Linked DNA regions of Homo sapiens: all the other regions are linked to region 3. The links are contacts of gene promoters, found by promoter capture Hi-C in blood cells and fetal thymus (Javierre and others, 2016). All regions are on one chromosome and are shown on one strand. The core of a region is centred on a gene start or on the middle of the fragment in contact, and the rest is flanking DNA. Distances in the headings are between cores, read along the strand shown.

The links. The method cuts DNA at HindIII sites, captures the fragments that hold promoters and counts their contacts. A CHiCAGO score of 5 or more calls a contact.
Region 1: a fragment that was not itself captured here is called in contact with the fragment with the promoter of ANKRD60 in region 3 in 2 of 17 cell types (megakaryocytes and endothelial precursors); the score reaches 7.8 in megakaryocytes.
Region 2: a fragment that was not itself captured here is called in contact with the fragment with the promoter of ANKRD60 in region 3 in 1 of 17 cell types (endothelial precursors); the score reaches 5.2 in endothelial precursors.

The regions. Positions count from the first base shown.
Region 1 is chr20:58,645,455-58,648,158 of GRCh38, reverse strand. All of the region lies in intron 1 of LOC107985410 (a long non-coding RNA gene), which reads left to right. Among named protein-coding and RNA genes, the nearest start is that of STX16-NPEPL1, 4.4 kb to the left of the region's middle. RefSeq lists a silencer at 372-666. The HindIII fragment of the contact is 2,566 bases long and covers 137-2,702 here.
Region 2 is chr20:58,674,574-58,677,483 of GRCh38, reverse strand. It overlaps STX16 (syntaxin 16), which reads right to left. Exons shown (of 9, transcript NM_001001433.3): 9 at 1-1,297. The coding sequence ends at 1,193. All of the region lies in intron 8 of STX16-NPEPL1 (STX16-NPEPL1 readthrough (NMD candidate)), which reads right to left. Among named protein-coding and RNA genes, the nearest start is that of NPEPL1, 17 kb to the left of the region's middle. RefSeq lists enhancers at 607-1,131, 1,132-1,657. The HindIII fragment of the contact is 2,189 bases long and covers 389-2,577 here.
Region 3 is chr20:58,226,841-58,229,911 of GRCh38, reverse strand. ANKRD60 (ankyrin repeat domain 60) reads left to right here and starts at 1,259. Exons shown (of 4, transcript NM_001304369.2): 1 at 1,259-1,688. The coding sequence starts at 1,259. The HindIII fragment of the contact is 6,586 bases long and covers 288-3,071 here.

The sequences.
Region 1 (2,704 bases), core at 170-2,669, 420 kb before region 3:
TGTTCCTTGGCTGTTTTATTTTCCTGTCAAGTGACTTAAGCTTGATTTTTTTTTTTTTTTAAAGCATTCCCCCATGGCCAAGTATGTGTTTCCTTGGAATTGAAATCTAGGTTGATGGTTTTACATTTTAAAAGCTTTCATTGTGACTCATTCTTGGCCTGGGCTAGGATTCGGTAATACTCCTCGGGCTTGGTGAGGCTCCGTGTCCTGTTTCTTGGGCTTCATACCCACTTTCTAACATTCTGCCAACGAATCCAATAAGTCACTTTTGGGGACAAGTGTTTCATTGTTTTCTTGTCATCTCATTCAGTGCAGGAGGAAGCCCCATTGAAGCCAGGCCATGGCTTGGGCAGGTGCAGGTTTTCAAGTACTGAGAGGGGATGGTTAGCTCAACAGGTCAGCAGTGGGACACACACCCTTTGGTGAAAACAATTTAAATGAGATAGGGCTCATGTAAGCCCTTATACAACCTCAGCATAGAGTAAGTGCGCCACAAATGGGCAATATGATTTATTACAGCAGTAGTCTTACTGTTGGAAAGCTCACGTGGGCTCTGCTCTCCCTGGAAGGCATCATAAACTCCAAAGAGAATGGCATGGTATTGAGAACTGAACACTTGGAAATCTAAGCACGTTTCCGAGCTTCTTGTTCTGGACCTTGGGAATCCAGATGTGTCTGCAGTGCACACTCATGTGGAAGAGGGGGCTAAACCATCTCAAAGACACCTTTTAACATTGGTCTTTCTCCCACCTATAGAAAGACAGATGGTTGTTTGCTTATCAAGCAGCAAAAGCCCCCAGGCCTAACATATGTCTCGTCTGCACAGATCTGACAGACAGATTCGGGCCAGGTTCGGGTAACAGGAGTTGTGTGTTCTGTGTCCCCAAATAGTTCCTCAAAACCTTGAGTATTTCCAACAACAGAAAACTCCCTATCTGGGTCTGTCTTCAGCTATGATGCCTCTCCCAAGAAGGGAGACTCTGGAGAGAGGCAACACTTTTGTTTTGTCTGGAGTCCCGTAGCTTTTAATACCAGACAATTCAATACAGTAGGCATTTCTAAAAATCTACCAGTGGCTGTGCCTATCTCTTGCCAGGCACTGCTGAAAGAATGAAACAGCAAAACTCTTGCCTTCAGGGAATTTGCATCTCCACTGTCTCTACCCAAATTCTGGTTCTCATCGTGTACATTTTCCCAGCAGCCTGCTAACAACCACCCGTCTCTTCCCTCCTCATCCTGCAGCCACAGTGACCTTTCCAAAGCATAAATCTGATCATGTCACTGCCTGATTGAGGCCCTGAAACAGCTCCCTCTGGCCCATGCCAGCCGATCTCAAATGACGCTCAGCAGAAAACAGGTGCTCTAAGTTGAACCAAGCTGGGCATCACTAATATTAACTAATGATGGACTTTTCTTGGTTGTCAGAAAAAAAAAAATGAAGCTAATTAATGGAGTAGTCTCCATCTTAAGTGTTTCTCTTCTCGCTTTCTCTTAAACCTTCAGTCCCTGCCACCACTTGGCTGTATTAGAATATAGTATAAGACTAGATCTGATTTATTCCAGAATCATGGATTTCAGTACAATTTTTTTCCCATAGATCAGTATTTCCTGGAGTTCTGCATTTAGGTTTTCTACACTTTCCACATGGCGGAGTGCCCCCTGGGCATTCAAAGCCCTGCCCAACAGGCCCCACCTAAATGGTGAGCTTTTTTCTTTCCAGGACTTGGCTCACAGGCCTTTCTCTGCCTGGTGGGGGTAGTGGCGGGGGATGTGTCTTGCCCCTTCTGCTTGGTGAACCCTTCATTGAAGACAGCACCCCCTACACTGTCAGGTGTGATAAATGTTTGCGGAATGGATGACTGGATGGATTAATGCACAAAAGGTGAGATTAACTATATTAAGTGCTAGAGAATACCAGACAGTCAAGACTCAAAATGGGTGGAGAGATTAGGGCAGTTCTCTGTCCCCCTCGCTCACCCCTTTTCAGCCACACTAGCCTTCCCACCATTCCTCACACCTCCTTAGCACCTGCTTTGCTCTCCTTCCTAGGTTCTTCAAATAACTGGCTCCTTCTCACCACTCTTGTCTCAGACTATTCAATAGAAAGTAATCCTCCTACCCTGTCCACCGTGTGGGGAGAGGACTCTCCTCTCCCAGGGCCCTTATGTCACCATCATACCAGGTGCCTGCCCATGCTTGGTCAAGTTCAAGACTGAAACAATGTCTAACATCGTGGCTTTTGGTCTTTGAGGCCAAGAAGAGGCCTCTTGGGTCACAACACATGCCAGCAAAGCATATCTGCATTTTACTTTTTTTCCAGGATGATGTGGACACATGTGTACTCAAATAAATCAACCCTCCCATCTTAACCATCTCCCTTGGCAGGAACAATAAGTTAATGTGCCAAGCCAGGACTGACCTGGATGACTCAAACCCTGAAAAACATAAAGGAAATCATTGTGTTTTTCCGCTAGCAGGTATTGAAACATAGCCAACTCACTCGTTTCTAGTTTTTTTTCCCATGGCCATGACCACTGACCTGCTCGTGGTAATTTGTGTGATGTGCAAGTGCAGGGCTGGACTCCAGCCTTCTCCAGATGCTGCCTGTGCAACCAGCAGCCCCTTATTAGCTATGTGGCCATGCATGGCTCAAGACTCCTTTGGTCACAAGGGACAGAACCCAAATCAAATGGACTTAAGCTTC
Region 2 (2,910 bases), core at 234-2,733, 450 kb before region 3:
GTAAACGATGAAGTCCTACTTTGGCGGTCTGACCCACGCTCACACAAACGAGGAGCTTCCTAGTCAAGATGCCCCCAGTCCTTGGCAATGTGCCTGCTTCCTGGGCATTGCTCAGTGGCAATGGAAGAGCCAATAAATCAAATCGCTGGTGGAATATTTTACTTTGAAATGGAGTGATGTTTGGTTAATAATTTGAGATCCACTAATCCTAAATGGGGTGACCCATTTAAAATGGCCTCTGTGTAAATTCACAGTTCATTAAATAGAGTCTGGTTTGAACAGGTCATTATGTAGTTAGTATATAAGTAATGGATTGAGCAAGGATGGCTGGGGATACCCATGGGGACACACTGGCTGAGTCTGGTGGCTTTCATAACACTGTCAAGCTTTCTTTTAATGTGAGATTCATTTAAATCACCAACTTAAATTTAGGTGGTTTTGCTTAGTAACCTCTTTTGGTTTACAGTAGAAAATGCAGTGCAAAAATTTTAAATGAGGAATATTCCATTTACAATTAATTTAAAACTTATGAAGCTGTTTTAACTGGCCCATCTAAATGTGTTAATTAACATCAATGATGGTTTCTTATTTTTCACACTTTGTTACTCTGATCATTAACAGTGATGGAAAAGCTAAATTAAGTTAATGGGGAACGGATTATAAATTCTTAAAGGACTTCTTAGTTTGTTTTCAACTGGAAAATATATAGAGAAAGATGAAGGGGCATTTTTGCCTCTACTCATCAATTTTTGGTACCAAATTTCTTAAAAACCAGATGGTTTAAAGAAAATTTTTCCAAAAATTATGTTAACATTCTGCTCAGACATGGCTGCTAAAAAAATAGCATATACACATATAATACTGAACAGCTTCTGCAGTGCCTGTAAACTCTCAGCTCATTTTCTCTTTCTAAAAAAAATATATATTATAACTGATCCCAGAACTCAATCTCTATTGTGCAGCAGTATCAAAGGTCCTTAAATTCTCAACAATGAAGGAAAAACAAAAACCCATTCCCCGGACCGCTTGAGCAGGACTAGGGAAGGAGGAGTCCGTGGATGCAAAGGTTCGCTGCCCCGACGCCCTCAGATTCCTCGAGGCTGCACCTCTGCGGGCAGCTGGCGGGGCGCAGGCCAAGCCCCTCACACCCGGGAGATCCACACGCGCGGCACACACGAAAACCCAATGCCACTTATCGAGACTTCACGCCAACGAGGACAACAATGAGCACAATGATGATGACAAATAATATTAAAATCACAAGCATCTTCCGATTCTTCTTTTGATACTGTTCTGCCTACAAAAAGAGGAGGGAAAAAAGGCCGTCATTTTCCCCAAAATCCCAAATCAAGTCCCACTCGTTTCCAGAATGAGGCTTCCAGATCTCTCTGCACAGTGACTGAGGTCTCTGCTACAGGCTACATGATTGTAATCCCTCCAATCAATCCCACGGAATTCAATCACCAGGAGTGGAAGAGCCCCATGATCCTGGTGCTGCTTATTTACCCTGGACGTGGAAATGGATTTGTTGGAAACCTACTACTAAGACAAAGCCTGACAGGGAAGTGAAAGCTCATGCTTCCGGGTGCAGCTGGGCCTGCTTCTCCCGGCTTTTCCTCCTGCAGGCCGTGGCAAGTGCCCCTGCAGCACGGGTCGCCTGTTCCCGGTCCGTGTTCCTGGAGCGAATGCACAGTTCCTTCACCGCGGAAGGAAACAACGGGCTGGAGGACCGTACCTGGCAGGTAGGCAACAGACACCCGGAAGAGGCCCCATTTCGACCTCCCCTAAATTTGGAAACAAAAACTCATCCTTTGAAATAAAAACAGACACGTGTGCCCCATGGATGTCATATGCAGAAAGATCCCTCTGAGGCGCGTCCTCCCAGTGCCGCTAACGATACAGCAAAGGAGCCCTCCAAGCTCAATCTGGGGACGAGGCTGCACCCTGCACATCTCTTCACCTTAACACCGCATCCTGGAAGCTCGGCAGGAGCGGGAACTCCATCATGCCTGCTAGAGAAATGCCAAAGGGCCCCACCTGGCTGGCGAAAGACGCAGAGCACTGAGAAAGGAGAGCCAGAGGACAGCAGAGTTCAGAGGGCGCCGGGAGGCACGTCCAGGGAGAGCATGCGCTGCCTCTTCCAGACCTTGCTATGGCACAGGAGGGAGGAGGAGACAGCGGGAAGGCAGCCCTGGCGAGAATGGCAATCTCTCCTGCTCCATCCCCCGCGGTGGGCTTGTTTCCTAAGTGAGCCTGCCCGCCCACCTGGAGGAGCCCCTCATCCACCAGGAGGAAACATCAGGCACGGGGACAGCACCGAGAGTCCGGTCATGGGGAGCAGCTCCCGACGCTCAATCACCCTTAGACTAGCCGACTGCCGAGCACGCGCGTGCTGCCTACAGCCTTGTGGCTGGAGGGAAGATGGAGCACGCTGACTTTTCTAATAAGTAACCCAGAACACCAGGGAAGCCAATACTAAATAATATACTGTAAAACCTCTCAAAATGATTTATAAAGTAGAACCTAAAACAAAATTTTTAGTTCCCACTAGATTTGCTCACTCCCGCAGAGAAAGCTTTTCCTTTTATCTGTGTTATATTACAAAACATATTTCACTAGTTTTTATTTAAGAAACTTCAAAACCAATGCATAATTCAGCAGCACATCAAAACCTGGGTATTACAGAGTGAGAAACTTAAGTTAGTTTTCACTTTTAATAGACAGGGCTTGGCAACCAAATTAATCTAAATGCTTAAAAAAACCCTGCATAGACAAGGTCAGACTTCTCTTCCCACCACAGGCTGGAGTCTCATATCCACCTACACATGGCAACAAGCCCCCTGAAAAGACAGCTCAGGGCTTCTGGTTAGACTAGTGCAAGGGCTGACTTTTTGTAAACCCAATACTGCT
Region 3 (3,071 bases), core at 10-2,509:
TTTGGTAAATAATCTAACCTTTACAATTTCCGTTTATATGTTAACATTTTTCTATAATATGAGTGCCTTTCCAATGCACAGATATTTTTTATGGCTGTAATTTCTCTGTAAAAATAATTTTTAAGCATACATTTTATTCTTTTTTTGCAACAACCGAGATTTTTCCAAGATTGTTCTGTTTCCCCTCGCCCTCCTAGCTCCCGCCCCCGTCACTTCGGCGCTTGTATTTTCTAATTATTCATGGGTGCCATGTTGAGTGTTTGTAATTTGACCACCACAGGTAAGCTTCCTGTTTACTTGAACACTCAGCCTCATCTCCGGTGAATGAAGGGAAAAGCACAGATGGGTTTCTCCCAGGCACAGCTCACTCCAAAGGTGTCTTCATAGAGCCAACCCAGCCTTTCTCAAGGGAGCATTTCCCCACTTAATGTGTTTATCAGCATCTTTCTTCCGCCAAGAATTCAAGAGCATTTTCAAAATTGATAGATTTTGGTGCAGTTTTGCAAGTTTCCGTGGAAGGCTGTCTCCCGCTTCTGGGATCCACCCCCATGTCGGGACCAGATCGGCTGCAGGGAGTCATGTTTATGAAATGTTGGTGGTTTTTTTTTTTTTTCATTCATACTAGAAGTGTTTTTATAACGAAAATCTGCACTTTACAACTCTGCAGGCCATGCATGCAATGGTGATTTACAGCCTTGTTTACGTGTAATTCCTCCAGGTGATTTATCCCAATTTATGCAAAGATCCTATTTTAAACAGACACGGAGAAGTGGTAACCGTTTCCTAACAGCAGCAAGAATGCCCCTTCCGTTTGCCTGGTGAAAAGAACTGACATTAACAGCAGCTTGGAGGCTTCGAGGAGGTGGGGACGTGGCCTGAGCTCGGGACGGGGGCCCAGTGCGGGTTGTCGGAGCGTGGCTGCCCGGCGATGTCTCTGTATTTATCAATAAATCTCCCGGTTGCTCTGGGAAGCACTTATGTCCTGTTCCATTATTTAAGAACCGTCTCCCGCGGCCGCGTGAAACTGCGGCTTTGTTCATCGCGGAGCGGGAAAGGACTGCGGGACCTTGGGGGGCCGCCCGCCCATCGGTCTCCCTGGAGGCTCGGGCGGCAGGCAGGGAGGGGCCTCGCCTTGCGTCTGGAGGGGGCGGTCCTGGCGGGGCCTGGGCGTCACAGTGGGGCGGGGGGCGCATGGGCCCGCCTTGGGGCGTCAGGGCGGGGGCGGCGATGACGCGTGGCCACCGCACTCGAGCCGCGGATGACGCGCGGCCGCGCCTGGGGGATGCGGCGGGCGGCGGCGGGGGCGGGCGGAGCGCGGGCGGCGGGGCCAACTGGGGGCGCCTCTCGCCTGCACCCCAATGCGGGACGCAGGAGCGGTGCGCGGGCCGGGGCTCAGGGGTGCGGCGGGCCCAGGGTGGGCTCGGCGGACTCGCGGGCCCTCCCCGCGCAGCCCCTGGCCTGTGCCCGCGGCCGGAGCCAGCGGCTCGTCTGTGACCCGAAGGCCGCGAGTGCCTTGCCCGACTTGGCCCCTGACGTCTTCGTCCTGCGGGTGCGGCTGGAGGAGACGGGGGAGATGTTCCGAGTGGCAAACTGCCGCGGCGACATGACCGTGCGGGAGCTCAAAGAGGAGCTGGACCTGATGGTCGGCATCCCCTTCAACCTCCAGCGGCTCCAGTACCTCGACGAAGGTGGCTCCTGCCCTGACTCCTTCCCTGGCCACATGCAAGGGCACCCTGTCCACTTCTGAAGTGGATTCCCAAAGGGAAGCCTGCTTACGTGAGAAACCCCAGATGTCAAAGCAAACCCCTGAAACCCAACCACCCTGAAACCCAGATGGAAGGGCCACTTAGGGTCCTGGCCACAGAGGGACTTCCCAATCTCAAACACACGGCGTTCAAATTGGACTCCCAATCAAGGCAAACCTTGTCCACAGCAGGACCCTAATCCACAAGCAGGTCCTGCCTGGATCGGGCTGCATCTGCCAACCCTGAGCAAATCCTGTCCAAGCCAGGACCCCCCAGAAGCCAGACCCTCAGGCTCCCCATGTCTTCATAAGGAACCCAGGTCCCAAAGCCAACTCTGTTCATGTAAGACTTGTCTGAAACAAGGCCTGTCCTCAGCAGAACCCCCAAACCCAAGGCAAGCCTGCCCATGTCAGTACCCCAAACTCAAAGCAAACCCCAAGTCCTCCTCCATGCTGGTCTTGAGAACATTAGAACCCCAAATCCTCTAGCCAACCATGTCCACGCAAGCATGCCAAACCTGAAACAAACCCTGCTGACCTCAGGACCCACAAATCCAGAATAAAATTGCCCAACACCGAACCCCAAATCTCTAGGCTAACCATGACTACTTCAGAACCCCAAATCCTCCAGCTACCACATCCCCCCCAGGATGCCAGGGCTTGAACAAACCTTGACCACCTCAGGACCCCAAAATCCAGAGCACACATGCCCAACTGAACCCCAAATCTCCAGGCTACCCATGACTACCTCAGAACCCCAGATTTTCCAGCCACTTTTGTCTTGCAAGGATGCCAAATCAAAACAAACCCTGTCCATCTCAGGACCCCAAAATCAACAAACCAGCCCAAGACTCAACCCCTAATCTCCAGGCTAACCATGACTACCTCAGAACCCCAGATCCTTCAACAACTGTGTCCAGGCAAAGAGGTCAAAGCTGAAACAAACTCTGTCCAGTTTAGGACCCCAAAACCAAGAACAAACCTGGCTAAATCTGAAATCCCAAATTGCCAGACTAATTATGTGACTATTAGAACCCCGAATCCTCCACAACCATGTCCACACAAGGATGCCAAGATCCGAAACAAACGCTGCCTGCCTCAAGACCCCATATATCTCTATGCAACTTCTGCCCATGTTTCAGCCTCAAACCCTGAAGCTATGCCTGGCCATAACAGAACCCTAAATCCCAGAGCAGACTCTACCCACGTCATGACCCTCAATTGCCCAATTCTGGACCCCCGGCCTCCAACTAACCATTTGTGCATCTGAACCCCAATCCATTAGCCACTTCTGTCTACATAAGGATGACAGAGCCCAAAATGAACC